Regions from separate parts of the Homo sapiens genome. Here all the other regions are linked to region 1. The links are contacts of gene promoters, found by promoter capture Hi-C in blood cells and fetal thymus (Javierre and others, 2016). All regions are on one chromosome and are shown on one strand. The core of a region is centred on a gene start or on the middle of the fragment in contact, and the rest is flanking DNA. Distances in the headings are between cores, read along the strand shown.

Region 1 (7,521 bases), core at 1,245-3,744:
GTGGAACCCAGAATGTTTAGGCAGCACTACTGTTTCTCATGCCCCTCTCAGAAGGACAGGGTCCCCTTACCAGCACCACAACTCCGCCCTCACCTTGGGCAAGGGCATGGAAATCTGCCCCCTACTCTACACAAGGATGAAACCAAGTTTCTCATCCCAACAGCCCAGACTCCATGACAACACTAACCCCTCTCCTAAATGGCCTCAGGTTGAAGTGAAGAATTCCAACTTAAAAAGTGCCAAATGTGAAAGCATCTCTCCCAGACCACCTCAACTTCCACTGAAGCTAAGAAGAGAGAAGGCAGAAGTGAATGATGCTGGATGAGAAACAAAAACAGGATCAGCAGGCTCCAGAATGAGAAGAAAACTAGAAGCAGAAGGAATGAAGAAATGACATGTAGAAAAAAAAATTAAACTAGAAAACATGAAGGTCAAGGAGATGAGTAGGTGACACAGCTAGGGGCTCTGAAAAAGGACACAGAAGAGAAAGACATCTGCTTAGGGGCATGACATCAACCATCATTTGAGGATAGACAACAGTTCCCCCAATCAGACAGGGTGGTTACAACCATACGGGTTTGGCCAGTTCATGAAGCCACCCCAAAACACAGATAGCGTAACCCCTAGCACACCTACACAGACACTTCACACTGCCAGCCTAAACCGCAGGCTACCTCATAGAGACAGAAGCCACTAGGAAAAAAGCCAAAACTATGTCCACTCACCAGGAGGAGGAGTGCCCTCCCTTCTTTTGCCCCTCTTCACTAGGCTATTACATCCTCCCCGAGCCCCCATCACTTCCCCACTCAAAACATTCCAGCAATCTGCCTGGCTGCTTTAAGCACTCCAGATCCTGCTGAGGAGCGCGATTCAAACTTCACACAGTTCAGACAGCACAGAAAACCGGTAACCGATCAGAAGCTAAAAATAATCAGATAGAGTGTAACCAGCACTCCCTCTTTCCTTTCCACAGCAGCAACCACAGGATCCTACTAGCACAGATGCCCGGCTGGTCTTTCAAACAGAATCCTCAACGCCCCCCTCCACCACCACCACCACAAGCCTCCAGGGGTCCCAGCTACCTGCATTCCTCCGAGGACCCACATACCAGGTAATGCCTGCCAGCCCAGAGAGCTCCCTCAACTGGGAACTGCAGAGCATTCCTCAAGACAGAGTGCAGCAAGCTGGCATCTCCGTGCCCAGGAGGCACATGGCTTCCACCCCCCTCACACCAGAGCTCCGCAGAAGGGAACCACTCCCTTCGGATACCCTCCACCTCCGGCTCTGCACAGAGACAGCGGAGCAACACAGCCCTGCCTCACCAGAGGAGTCACTCGGGAGAGCCCCAGATGTCTCCTTCCCGCCATGGGCCCTTGGGGAAGATGTTACCTGGGTGGGGTGGGGGCAGGCTGTTGTTCAAAAGTGCATCCATATCCTCCTCCTCACTGCCCGCCGAGCAGGGGGACGGGGAGCCCAGGCCCGACGCCATCCCCTTCCGCTCCCGGCCAGGGAATTGGCCCAGCTGCTCCTGCCGGCGGCCTGAGGACCTCTACACTGGCCCGAGTCACTGTGCGGGGGAGGGGGGAGAAACACAGAACAGTCAGTGACGCGCACTGTCCCCCTCCCCCACACCCACCCGCTCTTTCCGCCCCCCACCCCAGCCACCCTAGCAGGGCACCCGAACCGCTCAGGCTGAACTTAGTTCCACACTCCTCGGGGGCAGCCCGGAAGCCGGCTCCCCGGCAGGCGCCCCCACGGAGCGAGGGAGCGACGCCTCCGAGGGCAGGCTGGTGCAAGCGCGGGGAGGGGAGACGCGGGGCTGGACCGAGCGGGGTGTGACGGGGGAGGGGGTCCGAGTGGCAGCGGCGCGGGGGGGCCAGGGGAGGCCGCAGGCGGCGAGGCGCTCGGGGACACAAGGTCACTTGGGGGTGGGGGGGCGCCTCCCTGCGCCCGGGGAGGGGCCAGTCCCCAGACAGGGCAGCTCTCCAAAGGCTGTCCTCTGGGACAACTCAGGTTCTCCTCAAGAGCTGCGGGGACGAGGGGGCGTGGAGGCTCGGGCGCTGCGGGGGGCCGGAGGCAGGGACGCGGGGGGCGAAAGCGTCCCACCGGGAAGGGGGCCGGGCCACGTGTCCCGGGGGGCAAGTGATCAAAGGGCGAGGGGGTGGGCGCCGGGCATTGTGGGAGACCAAGCCGGAGGCGGGGGGTCGCGGGGAGCAAGACTCCGGCAGGGTTAGGGCGGGGGCTGGGGAGGAGGCCGGGCGCCCTGCAGGGCCAGGAAAGGAAGGGTCGGCTCCTCTGGGCAAGGGGCGGTCCGCGGGTCCGGAGACGCCTGAGGAAGGGGCGGGTGACGGGATGACCCTCGGGGCTGGTAGGGCCGTGAGGGGCGTCTCTTTGGGAACCCCGCGCTCTCCTCACCCCGGAGCCGCCGCAGGTCGCGCTGGGTCCGGCTCGGTGTCACTCCCGCTCCGGCTCCTCCTCGCCGCGGCCGAAGGGGGGAAAATGGCTCCGGCTCCAGCGTCGCCTCTTAAAGGGCCTGAAACACCGGCCGGGAAATCCCACCGCACAGGCCCCGCCCCCCCACGGACAGCCCATAATAACCTCAACCAACTCCAACCCCCCCCTTCCACTACCGCCACCCTCCTCCCCAGGTCTCCCGGGCAACCCCCGCCCCCTCGTCGCTCAGGCAACCACTGGCCACGCCCCCTTCGCAGCGGGCGCGCGCGCGTCACCTGGGCAACCGCCCACCTCCTGGCCATCCCATAATACACACGGACACCCCCCCCCCCAACACACACACACACACACACACACACACACACACACACACACACAACACACACACACCCTGCCCCCCCACATTTCATACACATATGCCAGAGACTGCTGACATCTCAAAATATTGCAGACCTTTTGCAACTAACCCTCTTAGACATCCCATAATAGACATCCTTTGCCAACTTCTTCTTCACTCTTGGACCTAATGCTAACATCCCATAATAATTCATCACCCCTCCCTCCCCATGGCCATCCCATAATAAGCACCCCTCGCAGCACTTATGCCTCATATCCCATAATATTCAGCCCCATCCCCCACAGACATCCCATAATAACCATCCTTCATCCACCCCCAGTTTGATATCCCATAATAGTCAGAAACTCACCCCCCCCCATACTACAACAACGGACACTCGGCCTCCTCCCACACACATCCCGTAATAATCAGTCTCCCACTTTCTATACTGACATCCCATAATAACTAACCCCCTAGAGCTGCCCTCAGTCCCTGCAGGCCAGGGTCTAGAGGCTCACATCACCCCCAGCCTTCCCTCTTCTAGCTCCACAGCCTATAGTAAGTACCCCTCCTCTATCAAAAAGATAACCCATAATGATCAACAGCCCTACTGTCGCCCCACAGATGGACATCTAATCTCTTTTCCTCTAACACTGGAAAGCTATCCCATAATAATTTTACTCTCCTACCCACATCCTGACATCCCATAATAATTGCAAGGAGCCCGTGGTCAACCAAACATACCATAATACTCCCAACACAACCCAGTGTCACATCCCATAATGCTTCATCTCCACTCTACCACCCCTATACCCTTCGAGCCAGGCATCCCATAATATTCATATTCTTCCCACCCCCATCTCCAGGCGCTGTCAGTCTATTCTAACACCCAGAGCAGGGAGGGCCAGGCAGGCTACCCACGCTTCCTTGTCCCCGCCCCCACTTGCACACACCTTAATCCCTTTCTGGGCCAAAGTAGTATCCTGGCAAAAAGCCTCCTGATGTCTGGGACCCCAGCTTCCCTCATACCATCATTTCCAGACACTCGGGGGCTGGGAGCCCACCTAGGGCCCCACCCAGTCCCACCAAAATCTAGGTATTTTCCAGATGCTTACCTCCAGCTCCTAAGTTTTGAGGAACACCAACCAACCAAAATACCAAGCTGACAGATGAAACATTTACATGAAGTCTAATTCACCCTACAGCATCCCATAATAATTACCAACTCCCATCCAAAGACTATCTCTCAACATTCTAGCAATCCTCCCCCTCACCACATCCCCAGGTCAGGGATCTTTCACCAACACCCCCAGGCCATTCCTGGGGATGGACATCCCATCACGATGTGAACTCAGGTTCCTGCTCTATACACACCAAGAGTGAAGGCCTGCCCTCCCGCTACTCACCACTACTCATGTTCATTCAACCTGTGTTGACAGAGTACCTAGCAAGGCCGAGCTCCGCACCATGGAGAATCAAGGAAGACCAGGGGGCCTCCCTTCAAAAAGCATAAGCAACCAAGCAAACTATGATACACGACAGAATGGTGCCAAGGGAGAACTGCTGAGCACTGTTTCCCAATTTCCTGTTACAGAAAATAAAATCCCACTGGTTCCAAGAGAGAACATATCCCAATAAGATTTATCGTGGTCCTTCTAGAGGCTGGAAGATGATACTTAAAGGATTTATGGGTATAGACCATAGTCAACATGATCTCCTATCTGTTCCCTACTTACTAGGGGATTTTTCTTGGAAAGCAATGTTCATCCATCCAGCATTCCTAATACTGAAATCCTATAATATGTTCATGTCCTTCCTTCTTAAGAGACTCCACAATATACCAGCATTGTTTCCCTCATTCTTGAACACCAAATCCTGCTTATCCTCAATGTCCCATATTTTTCAGGCACTTTCCCATTTTATATCCTGAAGTCTCATAGTATCTCCAATGGCCTCCATCCTCATCTTGTTGGGGCCACATTCTCCACCTCAAAAAAAAAAAAATCTTTAGTTGTATAATGTTCCCCATCTTCCCCTGCCTGTATAGAAGTCAATATTCCAGCGGGGCATGGTGGCTCATGCCTGTAATCCCAGCACTTTGGGAGGCCAAGGCAGGTGGATCACAAGGTCAGGAGTTCAAGACCAGCCTGGCCAAAATGGTGAAACCCCGTCTCTACTAAACATACAAAAATTAGCCTGACATGGTGGCACGTGCCTGTAATCCTAGCTACTCAAGGGCTGAGGCAGGAGAATTGCTTGAACCCAGGAGGTAGAGGTTGCAGGGAGCTGAGATTGCACCACTGCACTACAGCCTGGGCAACAGAGCAAGACTCTGCCTCAGAAAAAAAAAAAAAAAAAAAGAAGTCAGCAGTCCAGGAAACCTTCTACATTGAATTATGCCCCAAGGTAGCCCTCCAGCGTATACCATCTCCTTCCCTTATTATGCATACCCTCCAGCCACCCTATGGACCCAATCCTAGAAGCTGAAATAACCGAATTTTTTTTGTTTTGTTTTTTGTTTTTTTGAGAGACAGGGTCTCAGTGGCGCAATCACAGCTCACTGCAACCTCAACCTCCTGGGCTCAAGTGATCATCCCACCTCAGCCTCCCACCTGTAGCTGGAACCACGGGCATACACCACCACACCCAGCTAATTTTTAAATTTATTGTAGAGACGGGGTTTCACTATGTTGCCAGGCTGATCTTGAACTTCTGGACTCAAGTGATCTTCCCACCTCAGGAAAGAGCCTAATTTTTTTTTTTTTTTTTTTTTTTGAGACGGAGTTTCGCTCTTGTTGCCCAGGCTGGAGTGCCATGGCGCGATCTCGGCTCACTGCAACCTCAGCCTCCCAGGTTCAAGTGATTTTCCTGCCTCAGCCTCCCGGGTAGCTGGGATTACAGGCATGTGCCACCATGCCCGGCTAATTTTGTATTTTTAGTAGAGACGGGGTTTCTCCATATTGGTCAGGCTGGTCTCGAACGCCCAAACTCAGGTGATCCGCCCGCCTCGGCCTCCCAAAGTGCTGGGATTACAGGCGTGAGCCACTGCGCCTGGCCAGGAAAGAGCCCAATCTTAAAACCCTTTGGCCCTCAGAAAACCTAACCCATCAGCCTGTCACTTTTCCCTTTTCCTGACTCCCAGAGATTCAGGACCTGAGTGAAAACCAATGTCCCAGCACCACTGCCTTGCTGCCCTAACCCCAGGCCAAGGATAATGTCTCCCTCTGCTCATGTACCTTTTTTGCATGGGTCCAAGACCTATGGAAGTGGGACGAGTTGAAAAGAAACTTGGACTTCCTTGTAGAAAGGGCCCTTTACTAACCAGTAGTGAGTGGGATGAACCTCATGCCATCTCTGCATTACCCTTCTCATCTCATTTTCCTAGAGGAAGGCCTGGCCAGATGGCTCTCCCCTTCTCTAGGATCCAAGGGACTGGAGAACTGGTACAAAGAAATGAGTTCAGGGAAGGCAAGAGCTTGCCTCAGGGAATTACAATCCCCCTGCTCCTGAGCAGAGCACCAGGGATGCAGACAAGTCTTCCGCTAGCTCCTGGCTGACTCTGTAGACCCACTAGCATTCCACATTTAACTCTCCTCATCTTAGGACTGGAGTTTTTGGCATCAAAGACATCAGGTCCTGTCAAAAGCTCCCTGTCACCTTTGAAGTAGGTGTTTTCTTTTTCCAACCTTCCCTTCAGCTCCCTGGCCCACCCTCTTGCTGCACTCATTGTGGCAAGCGGGCCATTCTCCCCCGTTCTGCAAGGCTTCCAGTTTCCCTCGTTAAATGCTCTCGACATCAAGACTGGGCCCCATTTACTTACCCAAGCCCTCTCCCATACTTACTCTGAGTACTAAGAATGAAACTTGTGTTCCACAATGGGGGGTGAGGAGGCAGCTCTTTTCAGATACCATGATGTGGGGACACCTCCTTTCAGGGAAGTTTCTCCTTCCTACAGAGGGCTGCCAGATGCCTATTGTGCGCTCTTCTACCCTCATTTCTCCAGGGGATCCAGCCTGTCTCTGGGCCTCAAATTCCCTTCTGCAATATCTCCATCTGCCCATACCCATACTCTCATTTCCACAGTGATCTGTCCATATAAACCAGTAAGAGAGCGTTTGGGTAGTCACAGCCTCCTGCCTGTGACTAAAAATATCCACATTTTATTTATCCATATATCCTTTGTCCACTACTCACCCTGTGTCCCTATTCCTGTAGGTTCTACCCACTTCTTCCTTTGCTGCTCTTGCTCCCCACCTCTCCCTAACACCACAACAAGGAGAAAGTTAAAATCCCTTCCTCTCTTCTTGAGTTCCAGAAAGGGCTCGGAGGTGTGTGCTGGTGTGTTGCTTTGTAGTCCTTATGCTTCTACGCTTCCCCTCCCTCCTCTAGCCCCGTGCTACCCTCCCAGATAAATTATAAATAAACCACTAGCATGACTGGCCCAGGGAGACTAAGGGTGGCATAATCTCCTAATTAATGCACCCAGGAGGGCAGCCTCTCTAGCCAGTTACCTTAGAGTTCTGTTTTCATCCCATGGTACAGAAGAACCTAGAACAACACTCAGAGTGGGTTGTTCATGGAGTTTTTAGCATTTGCTCTATAATTCCTCTCCTTACACCTCTGTTTTGTGTGAACCTGAAAAACTCTGTTCATAAGAGGTCCAAGGGGCCACAGTGTTCTCCTGCTCTGTCTGAAAAGGGGATTTTGGGAGACAACGAGGGAAGCAAAGC
Region 2 (6,648 bases), core at 1,203-3,702, 210 kb before region 1:
AGGGAGAAGAGAGGAAGGATGGGGAGGGAGGGATGGCTGGCAGGGAGAGACTGTGGGCCAGATGAAATAAAAAGACCAAAACAGAGGCAGACAGAGACTCCGCTGCCAGTCAGTGTCACAACTAGAGAAGAGGGAAGAGACTGGAAAACCCAGAAGCAGAGAAATGAACACAGAAGCTCAATAAACCAGCAGCAAGCAGGAGAGGGGCGGGGCCAGGGGAAAGGCGAGAAGAAGGCAAGAATTCAAGAAGCAGCGGGCCTGAACTGGGGGCCTTCCTTCCTCAACACTCTGCCTCCCTTCCTACAGGTACCAATGGCATTCATGTCACCGGCGGGTCTATGACTATCACTGGCAACATCTACATCTACAATGGACCAGTACTGGGGGGACCACCGGGTCCTGGAGACCTCCCAGCTACCCCCGAACCTCCATACCCCATTCCCGAAGAGGGGGACCCTGGCCCTCCCGGGCTCTCTACACCCCACCAGGAAGATGGCAAGGCTTGGCACCTAGCGGAGACAGAGCACTGTGGTGCCACACCCTCTAACAGGGGCCCAAGGAACCAATTTATCACCCATGACTGACTGAGTCTGAGAAAAGGCAGAAGAAGGGGGGCACAAGGGCACCTTCTCCCTTGAGGCTGCCCTGCCCACGTGGGATTCACAGGGGCCTGAGTAGGGCCCGGGGAAGCAGAGCCCTAAGGGATTAAGGCTCAGACACCTCTGAGAGCAGGTGGGCACTGGCTGGGTACGGTGCCCTCCACAGGACTCTCCCTACTGCCTGAGCAAACCTGAGGCCTCCCGGCAGACCCACCCACCCCCTGGGGCTGCTCAGCCTCAGGCACGGACAGGGCACATGATACCAACTGCTGCCCACTACGGCACGCCGCACCGGAGCACGGCACCGAGGGAGCCGCCACACGGTCACCTGCAAGGACGTCACGGGCCCCTCTAAAGGATTCGTGGTGCTCATCCCCAAGCTTCAGAGACCCTTTGGGGTTCCACACTTCACGTGGACTGAGGTAGACCCTGCATGAAGATGAAATTATAGGGAGGACGCTCCTTCCCTCCCCTCCTAGAGGAGAGGAAAGGGAGTCATTAACAACTAGGGGGTTGGGTAGGATTCCTAGGTATGGGGAAGAGTTTTGGAAGGGGAGGAAAATGGCAAGTGTATTTATATTGTAACCACATGCAAATAAAAAGAATGGGACCTAGATAATTTATTTTCTTGGGATTTATACAGAAACACTATTCCATGGAGACAATCTCAAAGACAAAGGTCAAGACACTAAAATATAATCCCATAAAGATATTTCAGTGAGGAGCTGGTGAGTATAGTCCAGGTAATAACAGTCTCGTCAGTGATGGCTGACAACGTGCCAGGCAGTGTTCTCAATGCTTTACAGTACTAACTTACTTAATCTTCACAATAACTCCCTAAGGTAGATATGATTCCCATTTAACAAATGAGGAAACTGAGGCACAGAGCGGTAACTTTCCCAATTCAGCTGCAAATGACAAAGCTGGGATTTGCACCTAGTTCGTCTGGCTTTTAGAGGCCTCTTGGGGAAAAAAAAGCCTTCATATACCACGCCCTTCCAGAATTTCTTTGAACGGGTAGAATGGTCTGGCCTTCTCAAATAATCAGATCTCTTGCATGTTCCGCAGGTGTTACTTTTCAGTCAACTCTCAAACATCTAGCCACACGCGAAGTGAAAAATGTTCTCCAAGGTTGATTGAAGGGAAATGTGTGCAATTTTTTTTTTTTTTTTTGAGACAGGATCTAATTCTGTCACTCAGGCTGTTGTGCAGTGGCACTATTATGGCTCATGGCAACCTTGAACTCCTGGCTCAAGGGATCCGCCCACCTCAGCCTCCCAAGTAGCTGGGGCTATAGGTGTGTGCCACGACGCCCAGCTAATTTTTTGTATTTTTAGTAGAGATCAGGTCTCCCTGTGTTGCCCAGGCTGGTCTCGAACTCCTGGGCTCAAGCAATCCTCCTGCCTTGGCCTCTGAACATGCAGTGATTACAGGCGTGAGAGCCACCGTGCCTGACCTGAGGTGTGCACTTTAGACATAAAATGAGAGAGGCCAAGTTCACATTTTGTTGGTGAACAGAAATCTAGGCTGGCCTCCTTTTGGTTCAGAAAGAGTATTTATGATTTTTACTTTTTTGGTTTCTTTTTGTCTTCTTTTATTTTTACCCCCAAAAAGGACTTTAAATCTTCTCAAGCCCTCTTATTAGTAAATGTTTGCCCCTCCCTGCCCCTGAATTCTCTCCTGTGCTCGGTCGAGAGGATCTTAGCTTGCAGGATTGTTAGGGAGCTGCTGCCAGCCGGCTGCTCCTTCCATAAAAGGCCACTCTCATGGGTCTGATATGAGGAACTCTGTCGCTGGAGCTCATCAGGGTGGGGCGGCTGCAAAACACACACCTCAGAAGGCGTCTGATCCAATGGAGTGGATGGGTCATTTAAGGTTGACTGTGAAAATATCACATCCAACTTCCTTTTTTGAAAAGTAAATAATGGTGAGCTGTATCTTTAAATAAAGTTAAATCCTCCTGCCCCTGCAATATGCTGGGGCCAGACCTCATGAATTCTTAATAATTGTTCTAATGTGTTTAGATAAAAAACAAATTTTATACATTTTTTTCAACAAAATAAAAGGAGGAAAATATTTTGAAAGAAATGATGCTGAAGCACAGCCCTTTGTGACACCATTCAAATTTATAATTATACCTGCCTGTATTTTTTTAGAGACAGGGTCTTACTGTGTCGCCCTGGCTTGAGTGCAGTGGTATAATCGTGGCTCATATAGCCTCAGCTCCTAGACTCAAATGATCTTCCTACCTCAGCCTCCCACGTAGCTAGAGCTACAGATGCGTGCCACCACACCTGGCTAATTTTTTTTTAATTTCTTTTTTAAGAAGTGGGGTCTTGCTATGTTGTCCAGGCTGGTCTCAAACTCCTGGGATCAAGTGATCCTCCCACCTCAGCCTCCCAAAGAGCTGAGATTGCAGGCATGAGCCACTGCACCTGGGCTGCCTAAATTAATTTTCTAGGGCCGCCATAACAAAGTACTGCAGACTCGATAGCTTAAGCTGCAGAGATTTATCTTCTCACAGCTCTGGAGGCTGGAAGTCAGAGGTCAACGTGTTGGCAAGGTTGGTGTCCTCTGAGGCCTCTGTCCTTGGCCTGCTAATGGTGGCCTTCCTGCCACCTATGTCTTCACATGGTCTTGCCTTTGTGCATGAGTGTGTCCTAATCTTCTCTTAGTGGATTAGGGCCCATCCTGATGACCTCATTTTAACTTAGTCACCTCTTTAAAGCCCCTGTCTCCAAATAAGGCCCCATTCTGAGGTCCTGGGAGTTAGGGCTTCAGCACGTGGATTTTGGAGGGAGACACAGTTCCACCCACAGCATTACCCATGTCTATTTTGCCAGTGTGGAGTCAGTACAGGCTCCAGGACACATCCACAGAGCACAGGCCACGTAGAGGGGAGCTCCTGTCTACAAGGAAAAGCTGGCAGAAAACCAACAAAGACAGCCTCTTGATGGTGGTCTTCAAAAGATGCAACAGGATGCAATGGCAGTTGACAATGGGGTAACTGTTGGTTGTGAGAACCCTAATCCTCTACCACAGGGAGGAGAAAGCTAACACCAAGTCCAACCCACATCAACACGGGGGTGGGACACCCGTTAGGGGGCCAAGGCTGTAGTCCAGAAGAAAGGTGGATGGAACTGGGGACAGAGCAGTAGCACAGGGAGATGGGGGAGGATGGGGTAATTCAGAATTTCCCTTTTTGAGAGTGGCATCAACACAATGTCAAAGTAGGAGTTCTCCGGCTTCTCTCCTCCCCAACAGAATTTCAACTAGCAACAATCCTGTGGCAAGTTTACCACCCTGAATATCCCAGAACTTGGAGTGAAGCTTTGCATCCCCTGGGATGGCAGAGCCAAGAAAAACCATGAGGACGGTAAGGGGATGGCTGCTTTCTGACCACGCCACTCCTCCCCAAGCCCGCACAGTGCCACACGCAGAGGAGTCCCTGGATGCTCGGTTTCTCCAGTGGACACAGTGGATGGGAGGTGGGCGTTCGGCTTCCCCACCAGTCTGAGACTTCACAGGAGACTCACTCTAGTCTTTTCCCGCAGGAAGCACTGTGAGTACCGGCAGGGTCAGCCCAACAAGGGTCAGTAAGAACTTCCCTTTTCAAAAGATAAAGCGGTTCACATAGACAGCTGTGGTGGACTCTTTCTGCTGCCTGTCCAACAGACTTCTGCACATTTCCTAAGGACAGAACCGCATTTTTGTACTAGAGCAGAGATTCCGTGACATCAGGAGAAGAGGCCCTTCCCCCAATCCCAGGAGCCAATAAACTCATTCTTCTTTGCAATTGTACAATGACATGCACAGGGAAGTCTTCCTTTCCAGGGTATAAAGCACCATTAGGAGAAAGTTTTTGGTTTGCCTTGGCCCTTATTTTTTGTTTTGGGGATTTTGCGTGTGACAACATCACTCCTGAGCTGTGGCAGCCATCTTACCATCATGAGGAAACCGCCACGGGGATAAAAAGCCAGTCCTCTGAGGACCTGGAAGAAAGGACAGAACCTGGCTCCCAAGGCATCACTGAGACCCAAATCAACAGTAAGTAAGCACAGCACCTACTCCTGGGCTTCTTTTTATGAGAGAAAAAAAAAGTTCCCATTTGTGTAAATCATAGTGTTTGGTGTTCCTTTTCTTTTTTAGTTTTAATTGTATTTATTTCCTCTCTTTCGGATGGTTGATTTATTCACATGGGTCAAAATTCAAAAAGTATCAAAGAGTAAACAGTGAAATGTCTCTCTTTCACTCCTATCCCCCAACCACCAAGGTCCCTGCTCTGGAAGCAACCAATGTTACTGTTTCTGATGCTTTTCCAGAGGTAATTTATGCATATTCAAACAAATATATATAAATAGATTCCTTTGCTTTTTTATTTCTACAGATGGTACTACAGTAGTCCCCCCTTGTTTGTTATTTTTTTTTCTTGTTTGTGATTTTGCTTTCCATGGTTTCAGTTATCTGCTGTCAACTGTGGTCCAAAAATATTAAATGGAAAATTCCGGAAAGAAACAATTCATCTGTTTTAAATTGTGCACTGTTCTGAACAGCATGATGAAACCTCAAGCTGTCCTACTGAGACAGAGTAGGGATGGGACTCGGGCCCCACTCGTGCCCTACCAAGAACCTCTATTGTAAGCTGGGGTGGGGGTGTGTGGCCAGTGAGGACCCCAACCAGACTGTCCAGACCTTGCACCATGAATCTTGCTCAAGGTACTATACCCACTCATCGCAGACCCTTAGAGAGACTAAGATGAACAACGTCCCACCATAAATCTTACTCCAGGTGCCAAACCCACTAGTTGTAGAAATTAAAATAAGCAGCTCCCACCTTGAATCTTACTCAAAGGAGTTAACCCTATCTCCCGTATGTATACCACAGGACCAGAAGAATGAGCGCTCCTTTGCCTTATCTTCATTATAATACTAAAAATCACACCGGGGTGGAGACTTAACATGCTAATGAGACACACGATGCATAAAGAAGCATGTTATCAAACTGAACAGGTGCCAAAATTTCCTCATCTCTACCTGCTCAAACTCACTCCCTTCCCACTTTAGTTCCTTTAATTCTCCTTTAGTTCCTTTAGTTCTCTTGAGTCTCTTCCAGGAGCCAGCCAGAGAATTCTCTCTCTCGTGCTGCCTCCCTTATGCCCTGCATAAGCTCTAATAAAGCCTTGTCTGGGAAAACTCTTTTGGCCTCATGTTAACTTCTATTGCATTAACAACCCCCAAGGCCCTGTGGTTGGTAACACTACTCCTGTCCCTTCAAGACATGAATTCTCCCTTTGTCCAGCATCTCCTCCCTGCAGACGCTCCCTACCCCTTAGTCACTTACAAGCCTTCCCAGTGATCAGACCAACTGTTGAGATATTGCATGCTTGTGTTCAAGTCACCCTTATTTTACTTCATAATGGCCTCAAAGTGCAAGAGTGGTGATACTGGTCATTCAGATATGCCAAAGAGAAGCCATAATATGCTTCCTTTGATGACTTTGCTAAGATCTGCATAACAATGCACCTTCTATTCATGAAGTTGTGAAGCAGAAAAAAAGAAATTCAAACTAGTTTTGCTGTCACACCTTAAACTGCAAAAGTCATGGTGCATGATAAGTGCTTAGTTAAGTTGGAAAAGGCATCAAATTTCTGGGTGGAAGACATGAACAGAAACGTGTTTTGACTGACAGCAATCGGGTTCAGTGCTATCCACGGTTTCAGGCATCCACTGGGGGCCTTGGAATGTATCCCCCTTGGAGGAGGGTGGACTACTGTACACGATGTTCTGTAAGTTCTTCCCCTTGCCTTTTTCATTTATTAAAAGAGCTTGGCCATAATACCATATTAGTACCAAAAAAAGTTCTCATTCATTTTTCTATCTGTGTGGTATTCTATCACCTGGCTGTACCATTTAACTGGATCCCTTTTGAGAATTTTTAATTCATCTCCAACCTTTACTATTACAGACAACACTACAGTAATAACCTATGTCATTTTGCACATGTGGAAGTACTGCTACAAAAAAAATTGCTGGAAATAAAATTTCCTGG
Region 3 (7,183 bases), core at 3,304-5,803, 130 kb after region 1:
GGTGGCACCCGAGCCGGCCTGATCCAAATAGCACTGCAAACACTTTTAAAATAAAACCGACATTGAAACCACAGTGCCAAAAAGGCAGGTCAAAACTTGCTGCCTGAACCTGATTACCTGCTAAAACAAATTACCATTCAACATGTTCAACATGCTCCTTAAGATTTTAACAAGACCCAGAGCCTCAAACCATAATATTCAAAATATCCAGAGTATGATTTAAGGTGACTCAGCATACAAATAACTCTCCAGGGAAAAGACAGCCAACCCCAAGGAGGCAGAAGTGTTGGAATTTAAAGCAAATGCTGCAAGCAGTCTAACCATGCAGGAAGAAGAAAGGGAGAATGCTTTTGAAACAAATGTAAAGAAAGTCTTAGCAAAGAAATGGAAGATATAAAGAACCAAACAGAAAATAGCAATAACTAGGCCGGATGTGGTGGCTCACGCCTGTAATTCCAGCACTTTGGGAAGCTGAGCTGGACCATTCACCTGAGGTCAGGAGTTCGAGACTAGCCTGGCCAACATGGTGAAACCCCACCTTTACTAAAAATACAAAAATTAGCCAGGCGTGGTGGCAGGCACCTGTAATCTCAGCTACTTGGGAGGCTGAGGCAGGAGAATCGCTTCAACCTGGGAGGTGGAGGTTACAGTGAGCTGAGATTGTGCCATTGCACTCCCCCAGCCTGGGTGACAACAGCGAGACTCTGTCTCAAAAACAAAAACAAAAACAAAAACTTCCCAAACCTGGCAAAAGACAAAGACAGATTCAAAAAGTTTGGTGGATAGCAAACAAGATATACTCAAATCCATGTCCATAGCCAGCGTGGTGGCACATGCCTGTAGTCCGAGCTACTTGGAAGACTGAGGCAGGAGAATCACTTGAACCTGGGAGGTGGAAGTTGCAGTGAACCGAGATCAAGCCAACTGCACTCCAGCCTGAGTGATAGAGCTAGACTCTGTCTCAAAAAAAAAAAAAAAAATCCATATCTGGACACATCAGAATAAAATTGCCGAAGGTTAAAGACAAAGAAAAAAGTCCCACAAGCATTCAGAAAAACAGTGCTTTTCACACAGGATAAAAATGACTCAAATGACTGCACATTTTTCGTCAGAAACTATGAAAGTCAGGTGGAACTAGAATGATACTTTTAAGGGGCTTAAGGGAATTAACTCAAAATCCTATATCCAGTGAAAATATTGCTCAGGAATGAATGTGAAATAAAGATATTCTCAGGTGAAGGAAAATAAGAATTTGTCACCGGAAAACCCGCTGTAAAATCCTAAAGGAAGTTCTTTAGGCAGAAGAGAAATGACACCAAAGGAAACACGGAACATTAAGGATGAAGAGCAGCAGCAATGGTAAATATAATAGATTATTTTTCTCCTCTTAAGTTCTTTAAAATGTTTATGACAGCTGAAAGAAAATCATAAATTTGATGTTTGTCTCAAGAGGGAATTCTCTAAATATAATTTTAAAACAATTATAAATTCACCTAGAGCCATGCACCGCGGCTCACGCCTGTAATCCCAGCACTTTGGGAGGCTAAGGCGGGCGGAACACTTGAGGTCAGGAGTTGGAGACCAGCCTGGCCAACATGGTGAAACCCTGTCTCTACTAAAAACACAAAAATTAGCCGGGCGTGGTGGTGCATGCCTGTAATCCCAGCTACTTGGGAGGCTGAGGCAGGAGAACTGTTTGAACCTGGAGGTAGAGGTTGCAGTGAGCTGAGATCGCGCCATTGCACTCCAGCCTGGGCAAGAAGAGTGAAACTCCGTCTCAAGAAATAAATAAATTCACCTAGAAGGCTAGGTGTGGTGACTCACACCTATAATCTCAGCACTTTGGGAGGCTGAGATGGGCAGATCTCTTCAGCCTAGGAGTTCTAGACTAGCCTAGGCAACATGGTGAAACTTCGCCGCTATAAAAAATACAAAAAAAATTAGTGGGGCATGGTGGCCTGTGCCTGTAGTCCCAGCTACTTGGGAGGCTAAGGCAGGAGAATTGCTTGAGCCTGGGAGGTAGAGGTTGCAGTGAGCCAAGATTGTGCCATTGCATTCTAGTCTGGGCAACAGGAGTGAAACCCTGTCTCAAAAATTAAAAATCAATAGATAAATTCACCTAGAACTAAGCATTTTTAGCGTTTAGTATGTGGAGTTTCAGTATTTGTAGTATGTGGTGTTTGTCATTTATAGTAACACATATGAGAACTACGAGATGAGACAGTAAAGGGAGCTATGTTGTGGTAAAATTTCTACATTTAACTTGAAGTGGTAGAAAAAAACTCTGATTGTGAAAAGTATGTATTTTGTAATCCCCATAGTAAGGGTTAGTAAACCATATTCCACAGGCCAAATCCAGCCCACTGCCTGTTTTTGTAAATACAGTTTTGTTGGACTGTAGTTACACCTCATTCATTGCATATCATGTATGGTTGCTTTTGCACTACAGCATCAGATTTGGGTGTTGCAACACACATTGTATGGCTGACAAAGCTCATCATATTTATTGTATCTGGCCCTTTACAGAAAAAGTTTGCCGGCCCAGTGTAGTGACTCTTGCCTATAATCCCAGCACTTTGGGAGGCCGAGGCGGGTGGATCACGAGGTCAGGAGTTCAAGAACAGATTGGCCAAAATGGTGAAAGTCCGCCTCCACCAAAACTACAAAAATTAGCCAGGCGAGGTGGCAGGCGCCTGTAATCCCAGCTTTTCAGGAGGCCAAGGCAGGAGAATTGCCTGAACCCAGGTGGCAGAGGTTGCAGTGAGGCGAGATGTCACCAATGCCTGTCCTAGAGCGACCACTAAAGAAAAGAAAGCCAGGCGCGGTGGCTCATGCCTGTAATCCAAACACTTTGGGAAGCCAAGGTGGGCAGATCACGAGGTCAAGAGATCGAGATCATCCTGGCCAACAGGGTGAAACCCTGTCTCTACTAAAAATACAAAAATTAGGCCTGGCGCGGTGGCTCACGGCTGTAATCCCAGCACTTTGGGAGGCGGAGGCGGGCAGATCACGAGGTCAGGAGATCGAGACCATCCTGGCTAACACGGTGAAACCCCGTCTCTACTAAAAATACAAAAAAAAAAAAAAAAAAAAAAATTAGCCGGGCGTGGTGGCGGGCGCCTGTAGTCCCAGCTACTTGGGAGGCTGAGGCAGGAGAATGGCGTGAACGCGGCAGGCGGAGCTTGCAGTGAGCCAAGATCGCGCCACTGCACTCCAGCCTGGGCGACAGGAGCGAGACTCTGTCTCAAAAAAAAAAAAAAAAAAAAAATTCGCTGGGCATGGTGGTGGGCGCCTGTAGTCCCAGCTAATCGGCAGGCTGAGGCAGGAGAATCACTTGAGCCCGGGAGGCGGAGGTTGCAGTGAGCCTAAGTTTGCAGAGAGCCGAGATCGCGCCTCTGCACTCCAGCCTGGGCGACAGAGCAAGACTCCGTTTCAAAAACAAAAAACAAAACAAAAAGCCGGGCGCGGTGGTTCAAGCCTGTAATCCCAGCACTTTGGGAGGTCGAGGCGGGCGGATCACGAGGTCAGGAGATCAAGACCATCCTGGCTAACACGGTGAAAACGCGTCTCTACTAAAAATACAAAAAAATAGCCGGGCGTGGTGGCGGGCTCCTGTAGTTCCAGCTACTCGGGAGGCTGAGGCAGGAGAATGGCGTGAACTCAGGAGGCGAAGCTTCCAGAGAGCCGAGATCACACCACTGCACTCCAGCCTGGGCGACAGAGCGAGACTCCGACTCAAAAAATGAAGAAAAAGAAAAGAAAATGATACAGAGATTTACTGGGTGAAAAAAATCTGTACATAAATTAAAATGGAATACTAAATAACATTCAAGTAAACCAATACAAGGCTGGAAAATGGAGACAGAGAAATTACAAACAGAACAAACAAAATAAATAATAAATAATAGAAATATTGCCGGGCGCGGTGGCTCACACCTGTAATCTCAGCACTTTGGGAAGCCGAGGCAGGTGGATCACGAGATCGAGACCGTCCTGGCTAACATGGTGAAACCCCATCTCTACTAAAAATACAAAAAAATTAGCCGGGCGTGGTGGCGGGCACCTGTAGTCCCAGTCACTTGGGAGGCTGAGGCAGGAGAATGGCATGAACCCGGGAGGCGGAGCTTGCAGTGGGCCGAGACCGTGCCACTGCACTGAAGCCTGGGCAACAGAGTGAGACTCTGTCTCAAAAAAAAAAAAAGAAAGAAAGAAACAAAGAAAAAAAAAGAGATAAATGCAAACATACTAATTATATTAATTTTTTATTTTTATTTATTTATTTTTTTGAGATGGAGTCTCACTCTTGTCGCCCAGGCTGGAGCGCAGTGGCGCGATCTCAGCTTGCTACAACCTCTGCCTCCCAGGTTCAAGCTATTCTCCTGCCTCAGCCTCCCGAGTAGCTGGGATTACAGGCATATGCACCAAGCCCAGCTGATTTTTGTATTTTTAGTAGAGACAGGGTTTCACCATGTTGGCCAGGACAGTCTCGAACTCCTGACCTCAGGCAATCCTCCCGCCTTGGCCTCCCAAAGTGCTGGGATTACAGGTGTGAGTCACCACACCTGGGCAATTATATTAAATTTAAATGGCCTAACTACAATTAAAAGACGGATAGGCTGGTGGTATACATCTGTAGTTCCAGCTACTTGGGAGGCTGAGTTGGGAGGATTGCTTGAGCCTGAGAAGTTAAGGCTGCAGTGAGCTGTAACTGTGCCACTGCACTGCAGCCTGGGTAACAGAGTGAGACCCTGTCTCAAAAAAAAAAAAAAAAGAAAAAAAAAAAAGACTCACTTCTTAACTCCAGCACTTTGGGAGGCTGAGGCGTGAGGATCACTTGAGCCCATGATTTTGACACTAGCCTGTGCAACACAGTGAATAGAGACCCCATCTCTATTTTAAAAAAATATCAAAATAATTTTTTTCTTTTTTTTGAGACAGAGTCTCACTCTGTTGCCAGGCTGGAGTGCAGTAGTGCGATCTCGGCTCACTGCAACCTCCGCCTCCCCGGTTCGCGCCATTCTCCTGCCTCAGCCTCCCGAGTAGCTGGGACTACAGGCGCCCATCACCACGCCTTCCTAATTTTTTTTGTATTTTTAGTGGAGATGGGGTTTCACTGTGTTAACCAGGATGGTCTCGATCTCCTGACCTCGTGATCTGCCTACCCCGGCCTCACAAAATGCTGGGATTACAGGCGTAACCACCGCGCCCGGCCAAAATAATTTTTTTAAAAGACCCAGAAATACAGTGTCTTAAAAAAGAAAACAAATACTTTTAAGTATGACATAGGTCGGTTAAAAGTAAAAAGATGGAGAAACACGTACCATGAACACTAACCAAAAGAAAGTTGAAAATGGCTGTAGTAACAGTTAACTAAACTTCAGAGCAAAGAAAATTACCAGAGATAAAGAGGGACATTGGCTGGGCTTGGTGGCTTAAGCTTGTAATCCCAGCACTTTAGGAGGCCGAGGTGGGCAGATCACGAAGTCAGGAGTTCCAGACCAGCCTGGCCAACATGGTGTAACCCCCATCAATACTAAAAATACAAAAAAATTAGCCAGGCGTGTAATCCCAGCTACTTAGAAGGCTGAGGCAGGAGGATCACTTGAACCTGGGAGGCAGAGGTTGCAGTGAGCCGAGATCATGCCACTGCACTCCAGCCTGGGTGACAGAGCGAGACTCTGTCTCAAAAAAAACAAAACAAAACAAAAAAGACATTACATAATAAGATATTTGGTTTTCCAAGTAGATACAATAATTCTAAATGTCTATGCATTTAACTAAAGCGCTTTAAAATGCACAAAGCAGGCCGGCCACTGTGGCTCACGCCTGTAATCCCAGCACTTTGGGAGGCCCAGGTGGGCAGATCACTTGAAGTCAGGAGTTTGAGACCAGCCTGGCCAACATGGTGAAACCCCATCTCTACCGAAAATATAAAAAATTAGCCAGGCGTGGTGGCATGCGACTGTAATTGCAGTTACTCAGGAGGCTGAGGCAGGAGAATTACTTGAACCTGGGAGGTGGTCTAGCAGTAGCGAAAAGTGTCAAGGAACAACACCCGCTACTTAGCAGACCGGGAAAGTGAGTCTCCTTTTCCCCGGGGGAGTTTAGAGAAGACTCTGCTCCTCCACCTCTTGTGGAGGGCCTGACATTAGTCAGGCTGGCCCGCGGTTATCCGGAGGCCTAACCCTCTCCCTGTGATGCTGTGCTTCAGTGGTCACGCTCCTAGTCCGCCTTCATGTTCCATCCTGTACACCTGGCTCTGCCTTCTAGATAGCGGTAGTAAATTAGTGAAAGTACTAAAAGTCTCTGATATGCAGAAATAATGGCGTAAGCTGTCTTTCTCTCTGTCTCCTCTCTCTCTCTCTCTGCCTCAGCTGCCAGGCAGGGAAGGGCCCCCTGTCCAGTGGACACGTGACCCACGTGACCTTACCTATCATTGGAGATGACTCACATTCTTTACCCTGCCCCTTCTGCCTTGTATCCAATAAATAACAGCGCAGCCAGACATTCGGGGCCACTACCGGTCTCTGCGCATTGGTGGTAGTGGTCGCCCGGGCCCAGCTGCCTTTTCTTTTATCTCCTTGTCTTGTGTCTTTATTTCTATGCTCTCTCATCACCGCACACAGGGAGAGACCCACCGACCCTGTGGGGCTGGTCCCTACACACACCCAGCTAATTTTTTGTATTTTTAGTAGAGACAGGGTTTCACCATATTGGCCAGGCTGGTCTTGAACTGCTGACCTCAGGTGATCCACCTGCCTTAGCCTCCCAAAGTGCTGGGATTACAGGTGTGAGCCACCGCGCCCGGCTTTGTTTTTGTTTTTGTAGAGATGGGGTTTCACCATGTTGCTCAGGCTAGTCTCGAACTCCTGGGCTCAGGCAATCCTCCCTCCTCAGCTTCCCAAAGTGTTTAGGATTCCAGGTGCGAGTTGCCACGCCCTGCAGGAAATTTTCTATTTAAAGGACTTCTATGGTGAATCATTCCATACAGCATATTAGTATCATTTCTGTCAATCTAGGTTTTGAGTCCTGGCTCTCTCTGTGCTACTATCAGATAGCTGTATGATGTTGAACAAATCACTTCTCCGTTTCTTCAGAAGAAAATGGAAAGGGGGGTTTTGATGATATCTGGAATGACTGATAAGGGGCATCTGAATCATCTCCAACCCTGACATTCGGCTTT
Region 4 (6,695 bases), core at 368-2,867, 210 kb after region 1:
AGCACAGCACCCATGGGAAGGGTCCATCTCAGAGAATTTACGAGCAGGGATGAAGGCCTCCCTGTCTAAAATCCCTCCTTCATCCCCCGCTGGTGGCAGAATCTGTTACCAGAGGACAAAGCCTTTGGCTCTTCTAATCAGAGCGCAAGCTGGGAGCACAGGCACTGCAGGAGAGAATGCCCAGTGACCAGTCACTGACCCTGTGCAGAACCTCCTGGAAGCGAGCTTTGCTGGGAGAGGGGGTAGCTAGCCTGAGAGGGAACCCTCTAAGGGACCTCAAAGGTGATTGTGCCAGGCTCTGCGCCTGCCCCACACCCTCCCTTACCCTCCTCCAGACCATTCAGGACACAGGGAAATCAGGGTTACAAATCTTCTTGATCCACTTCTCTCAGGATCCCCTCTCTTCCTACCCTTCCTCACCACTTCCCTCAGTCCCAACTCCTTTTCCCTATTTCCTTCTCCTCCTGTCTTTAAAGCCTGCCTCTTCCAGGAAGACCCCCCTATTGCTGCTGGGGCTCCCCATTTGCTTACTTTGCATTTGTGCCCACTCTCCACCCCTGCTCCCCTGAGCTGAAATAAAAATACAATAAACTTACTATAAAGATGCTCTTCGTGTGTGTGTGTGTGTGTGTGTGTGTGTGTGTGTGTGTGTGAGAGAGAGAGAGAGAGAGAGACCCCTTCTCTGGGGACCAGGAATCTTCTGGTCTTTGGGGTCGGACCCAGAGGAGAGGTTGCTGGGCGTGCCCCAGGAAGGAGATGAAGTTTCCCTGGAGAGGGAAAAATTCTGTGGAGGCTGGCTACCCACCTCCACAACCCACAGGGCTCTGTGTGGGCCTGTGTGTGTGTGAGGCTGAGACTCTGTAATTACATGTGTGTGATATACCGTGGGGGAGAGACTCAGGGTTGTGTGAGCTCTCCTGGTGTATGTGTGTGGCAGAGAAAAAGGACTATGAGAAACTGTAACATGTGTGTGCAAATTGTATCCCCAACATATGTGTTTGTGTTCCAGGAGGAGGAGGCAGAGTGTGTGTGTCTGTGTGCATGCATGCGCCCACATCCTTTTAGCTTGTGCACAACCACCCCCAACTCCACAAGCAGCCCCAGTGTGCACCACAAGCCCCCTCACTCCCAAACCCAAGGCCCAGCCCTCACACAGATACACACAGTGACACACGCTTCCTCCTCCCCGAACAGCTAGCTCCTCAGTCCCCAACAACACCAGCTGCCTCTTGGAGCTTGTGTTCGTGTTGAAAACGGGAAGGGGTGGGGGCAGGACATGAACCATTTCACCAATGAAGCCGGTTCCCAGCCATCCTCCTCACCGCCCTCCCTCTCAGCGCCTTCCTTGCCCCTCCTCCCCGAGTCACCACCGTCCAGTTCCCCACCCTGCACTCGTTTCCCGCCCCCCCCCGCCCCCCACAAAGCTGTCCTGCCTTCCCTCTGGCCTGGGCTCACTGGCAGGACGACCCCGGGAGAGAGGGTCCTGGAGAGTGAGAGGGGCAGAGACCGAGTGAGCCGTGGGCTGAGCCTGGGAGGCCGGGACTGAGGGGGAGGAGGGAGGCCCGGGGGAAGGGAGGGAGGGAGAGAGGGAAGGAGGGAGGAGGGCGGGCGAGCTGGAGCCGGCAGGCAGCGGGAGCCCGAGAGAGCCGCGTCGGGAGTGCGGTCTCCATGGCAGTGCTGGGCGCAGCCGGAGAGAGGTAAGACGACCCCTGCCTGCCCCGTCCCCTGTGTTGCCTCCCTTTCCCCCTCAAGCTGCCTCCTCTCCCCTAGGCCGGCCCCTCCTCCCCAGCCACCTGCTGTTTCTGCCCTGGAGAACCTGGAGGGGGACAGGAGGGAGGAGCCGCCTGACCTTACCCCTTCACCCCAAAGGGCGAGGGACCCCGTCGGCCAGGGAACCTCCCAGATCCCCCTTCCCACCTTCCTCTGATCTCTCCCTGTCCTTCACCTCCCTCTCTCTGTCCTTCACATCTTTCCTGCCTCCTTCCCTCTCTGACTCCCTATCTCTTTCATCCTGAGCCCACCAGCTGGGCCTGGGTGGAGGTGGGTGGGAAGGGGTCCAGGGCTGTAGGAGAGGACACTGGGGGCTGCTCTTGGCCAAGTCCCTCCACCTCCCTCTGGCTGGCCATTGCCATGGCAACTAGGGTGTACTGGGCTCCGGAGGGAAGCCAAGGGTGGGGGTGGACCAGGACCTCTTGGGGAAAGCAAGGGTCTGAGCTGCTTCCATGGGAAACAGACCCTTTCACTGCTGTGCCCCATTTTTACCCCACTTACCCTAAAGCCATTATGTGCTTCCTTACAGCCCCACTCTGTTCAGGGTTTCACCCGATTCCCTTACCCCCCTTCCCAGGGCTCACTGAAGCTCAGCATCACGCACTAAAACTGGGACCATCCTTCCTCCCATGAGAGGGAAACTGAGGCTCTGGGCCAGGGAGGAAGAGTCAAGGTCTCCCCACGGGGAGTCAGCACCTTATTGAACATTTGGCTTTTCTTCTCAGCCTCCTATTCCCTGCTCCCTCCCTCCCTCCCTCCTCCAGTCCCTCCTCCCTCCAAAGCCTCCTCTCCAGGGGGTTTGAGCTTTTCCTGCTATTTTCAGATACTACCACTTTGCCCCCTCTTTCTCTTCTGCTCAAACTCTCCTCCTTCTCCCTAGTTCCCCCTCTTTCCATTTCTGGATGCTTCTGATGTCAGCGGTTTCCCCGCCTTCAGGTTCCCTAGCACCCCCTTCGGTCCCAGACTCCTTTCTCCCATTTTCCCAGATATGGGTAGCTGGAGGGTGATCACCCAGGTTTGGGGAAGTAGGGGCTAAGCACCAAGACCCCTGCATCCAGGAGACCGGCAGGTAGGGGAGGAAGGCTGTGATGCCATATCCCAGTTCACTGTGAACCCTCAAGAGGAAACCAGTCTTGTGTCTCCCATCAGTAGTTCTGAAGAGACATTTAGGGACTTGAAGATAGGGGTGGAGTAGTGCTGAGCAGGGGATGTTCTAAGAAGGAACCTGGGAGTTCCAGCGGGAGGAGGAAGGGCTAAAGGAGACAGGGAGGTGGGAATACCTTCTTCCCTAGAGGTCTGGAAGAGTGCGGCTCTCATCTGTGTGGGGTGTTTAGCTGTCAGAGTTAAGGCAAAGGAATGTTCTGAATGACCCTCAGGGCCTTAGTAATCAGTCATGCCTATAGTTTCAAGAAAGGGGGCACAGGAGGCTGATTGGAGACCAGCCCAGGCCCTACCTTTGCCCTCTCCCTCCCACATCTCATCTTTCCCTTGCAGCCTGTCCAGGGGGCTGAGCCCCACCCCCAAATCCCTGGGGCATCCAGAAGATTCCTGACTGGTCAAGAACCAGAGGCAAAAGAGACCTGGAAGTCCCAGCATGGGGACCAGAACCCCCCAGCCAGCCTCATAGTTGGGAAAGTAGCCAGCTTGCCTGCCCCATCAATTGCAGGGATGCTTAAGGAAGGCCCCGCCCAGTATGAAAGCTGAGGATTGCCTCTGCTGACCCTCAGTCTCCTCCCCTGCCCTCTACATCTGCCCTCAGCTGGGTCCATCATGCAATGCTGAGCACTGGGGTGAGCCTGGGGGCAGCCTGCCTGCTGACAGGGCGAGGATTGTGGGGATCATGGGAGTGTTTGTGAGTGGGGCTCCTGGGTGAGACCTAGCCCCCACCCCCACAGAGCTCAAGGGGGTGGGGGGCTGAGGATAGGATGGCTCGGGGCGGGGCGGGGGCAGAGGAGGCCTCCCTGCGCTCCAACGCATTGTCCTGGCTGGCCTGTGGGCTCCTGGCGCTGCTGGCCAATGCCTGGATCATCCTCAGCATCTCGGCCAAGCAGCAGAAGCACAAGCCACTGGAGCTGCTGCTCTGCTTCCTAGCGGGCACACACATACTCATGGCAGCTGTGCCCCTCACCACCTTTGCCGTGGTGCAGCTGCGTCGTCAGGCTTCCTCCGACTATGACTGGAACGAGAGTATCTGCAAGGTCTTCGTGTCCACCTACTACACCCTGGCGCTGGCCACCTGCTTCACGGTCGCCTCCCTCTCCTACCATCGCATGTGGATGGTGCGCTGGCCCGTCAACTACCGCCTCAGCAACGCCAAGAAGCAGGCACTGCATGCCGTCATGGGCATCTGGATGGTCAGCTTCATCCTCTCCACACTGCCCTCCATTGGCTGGCACAACAACGGCGAGCGCTACTATGCCCGCGGCTGCCAGTTCATAGTCTCCAAGATCGGCCTCGGCTTTGGCGTTTGCTTCAGCCTCTTGCTACTTGGGGGAATTGTCATGGGTCTGGTCTGTGTGGCCATCACCTTCTACCAGACACTGTGGGCCCGGCCCCGGAGGGCTCGGCAGGCCCGGAGAGTGGGGGGTGGTGGGGGGACCAAAGCGGGTGGGCCAGGGGCCTTGGGTACCCGGCCAGCTTTTGAGGTACCAGCCATTGTGGTGGAGGATGCCCGAGGGAAGCGGCGGTCCTCGCTGGATGGCTCGGAGTCTGCCAAGACATCCCTGCAGGTCACCAACTTGGTCAGCGCCATCGTCTTTCTCTATGACTCACTCACAGGGGTGCCCATCTTGGTGAGATCGGGGTCCTCCCCACCTGTTCTCCCCAATATCCAGGCCCCAGCATCATCACCTGACCTCCAACTTCATCAGCCATACAGCAGCTCCGTCATCTCTCCTCCAGTTCCATCATCCATCTTCCTCTCCTCTGTCCATCCCCCACTCCATTTGTGGCCCCCATCTTGATCATCTGTCTTTTAGTTCCCACTACCCTGTTTACCCCAGCTCCAGCATCTGCTTCAGTTCCCACTCCTCAGCTCCATCACCGTCCTTCAGTTCCACGACCTGTCCTCCAGCTCCGTCATCCATCCTGCAGCTCCACGGTTCAGCCGCAGACCTCTCATCCAGCCGCTGGGCTCCACTCTCCATTCCCTCCTTCCCTCGGGCTGCCACATGGTCTCTGAGCACTCTTGGCTGGAAATCCCACAGGGCTCACCCCACCACCCCATCTAGTCACTGTTCCTGGGTTCCTGTCTGTCTCTACGGTTCCTGGTCCACCTCTGTTCCTCTCCCTCCTGACCGCAGGGCTTTGTCTCCAGCACTCTCCCCGACCTTCCTCTGAGTCAGTCCCTTCCCTCTGTTCACTCCATCTCCACCTCCGGCTTCGCCTCTGTTGGAGCACAGGGATCAGGCATTACTTCTGACGTCTTGCCCACCAGCTGCACTAGGATATGGGGTTCAGGTGGGCTCCTCAGCTCTGGCCCTGACCCAGCCCGCTCCCACCCTTCCCCAGGTGGTGAGCTTCTTCTCCCTCAAGTCGGACTCGGCGCCCCCCTGGATGGTGCTGGCTGTGCTGTGGTGCTCCATGGCACAGACGCTGCTGCTGCCCTCCTTCATCTGGTCCTGCGAGCGCTACCGCGCCGACGTGCGCACAGTGTGGGAGCAATGCGTGGCCATCATGTCTGAGGAGGATGGAGATGACGGTCAGAGGAGGGGCTGGGCTTTGGCTTTCCTGGACATCTGTCTATTCCCTTTTCTGCCGCTCCTTCTCAGCCAGAGGATGGGCTGCCCTGGAGTGCCCCCTACTGGACAGAATCTGCACCACCCTGGGCTCCCCTTTCCCTAAGCAGGCACCCTGCTGTCCACTCACTGCTTCCCGCAGCACTCAGGGCTCCCTTCACTGGGCCTAGGCTCCCCTCCAGAAACCCACACTGCCCAGCTCTGGCACTATGGGGAACCTGAGCTTCCCGAGAGAGGCCCCCCAGCTATAGGGACGGCTCTTGGGGGAGTGCAGGCAATTGTTTCAATAACTTCATCTATATGTATGAAGCACTCCACTCAGGATTTAGCACTGAACGCAGCAAATGCTAGCCACTCTCACTGTCCTCTTGGAACATACATGCTAATGGGAACTAAAGGGGTCTCTGGGAGCTTATAAAGGCAGTGGTGGGAGGCCGCGGTAGGCATTCCCTACCTGTAACCACTCTGCCCATTTTCTCTCCTAGATGGGGGCTGTGACGACTATGCAGAGGGCCGAGTTTGCAAAGTTCGCTTTGATGCTAACGGAGCCACAGGACCAGGGAGCCGGGACCCCGCCCAGGTGAAGCTGCTGCCTGGAAGGCACATGCTCTTCCCTCCTCTTGAGAGAGTCCACTACTTACAGGTATGGAACTGGGGGATACATCTCCTACCCTTGGTGCCGCTCATCACTTTTCTCCAGTGTCTGTTAGGCACCCCAATCCCCTCTTCCCTAGCCCTGGCTTTCAGGGCACCATAGAGCTGGGTGAAAGAAAGCTATAGCAAGAGAGGCATCCCTTCAGACCTCGTGGGGCCAGGTTTGCCCACCGGAGCAAACGTTTTGAAGGTTAAGAAGGTGGCACCATCTTCCGGAGTCCCCACTTGGTTCCTGCCTCTGCCTCTGTCCCTGCAGCACCTTCAGGTCTTACCCGCTCCTCTTCCCAGGTCCCCCTATCCCGGCGTCTGTCCCATGATGAGACAAACATCTTCTCTACCCCTCGGGAACCAGGCTCCTTCCTGCACAAGTGGTCATCCTCTGATGACATCCGGGTCCTCCCAGCCCAGAGCCGGGCCCTCGGGGGTCCTCCTGAGTACCTGGGACAAAGACACAGGTTGGAGGACGAGGAGGACGAGGAAGAGGCTGAAGGTGGGGGGCTGGCCAGCCTTCGCCAATTCTTGGAGAGTGGGGTT

The links. The method cuts DNA at HindIII sites, captures the fragments that hold promoters and counts their contacts. A CHiCAGO score of 5 or more calls a contact.
Region 2: a fragment that was not itself captured here is called in contact with the fragment with the promoter of CHD4 in region 1 in 1 of 17 cell types (activated CD4 T cells); the score reaches 6.7 in activated CD4 T cells.
Region 3: a contact is called between a fragment that was not itself captured here and the fragment with the promoter of CHD4 in region 1, in 8 of 17 cell types (naive CD4 T cells, total CD8 T cells, total CD4 T cells and 5 more). The highest score is 10.4, in naive CD4 T cells.
Region 4: a contact is called between the fragment with the promoter of GPR162 here and the fragment with the promoter of CHD4 in region 1, in 13 of 17 cell types (activated CD4 T cells, naive CD4 T cells, total CD4 T cells and 10 more). The highest score is 13.1, in activated CD4 T cells.

What each region holds. Positions count from the first base shown.
Region 1 is chr12:6,604,885-6,612,405 of GRCh38, forward strand. It overlaps CHD4 (chromodomain helicase DNA binding protein 4), which reads right to left and starts at 2,495. Exons shown (of 40, transcript NM_001273.5): 1 at 2,416-2,495; 2 at 1,390-1,567. The coding sequence starts at 1,489. LOC124902867 (a long non-coding RNA gene) reads left to right here and starts at 1,002. Exons shown (of 2, transcript XR_007063193.1): 1 at 1,002-1,111; 2 at 4,231-4,426. RefSeq lists enhancers at 1,066-1,225, 2,966-3,115 and silencers at 1,576-1,625, 1,806-1,865, 2,276-2,375. The HindIII fragment of the contact is 30,599 bases long and covers 1-7,521 here.
Region 2 is chr12:6,390,354-6,397,001 of GRCh38, forward strand. It overlaps LTBR (lymphotoxin beta receptor), which reads left to right. Exons shown (of 10, transcript NM_002342.3): 10 at 307-1,213. The coding sequence ends at 584. Among named protein-coding and RNA genes, the nearest start is that of LTBR, 9.5 kb to the left of the region's middle. RefSeq lists an enhancer at 308-1,120. The HindIII fragment of the contact is 2,950 bases long and covers 978-3,927 here.
Region 3 is chr12:6,735,868-6,743,050 of GRCh38, forward strand. No RefSeq gene overlaps it. Among named protein-coding and RNA genes, the nearest start is that of MLF2, 14 kb to the right of the region's middle. The HindIII fragment of the contact is 1,764 bases long and covers 3,672-5,435 here.
Region 4 is chr12:6,820,204-6,826,898 of GRCh38, forward strand. GPR162 (G protein-coupled receptor 162) reads left to right here and starts at 1,618. Exons shown (of 5, transcript NM_019858.2): 1 at 1,618-1,697; 2 at 3,265-4,562; 3 at 5,281-5,470; 4 at 5,993-6,150; 5 at 6,450-6,695. The coding sequence starts at 3,696. CD4 (CD4 molecule) reads left to right here. Exons shown (of 10, transcript NM_000616.5): 10 at 1-596. RefSeq lists an enhancer at 629-1,601. The HindIII fragment of the contact is 21,739 bases long and covers 1-6,695 here.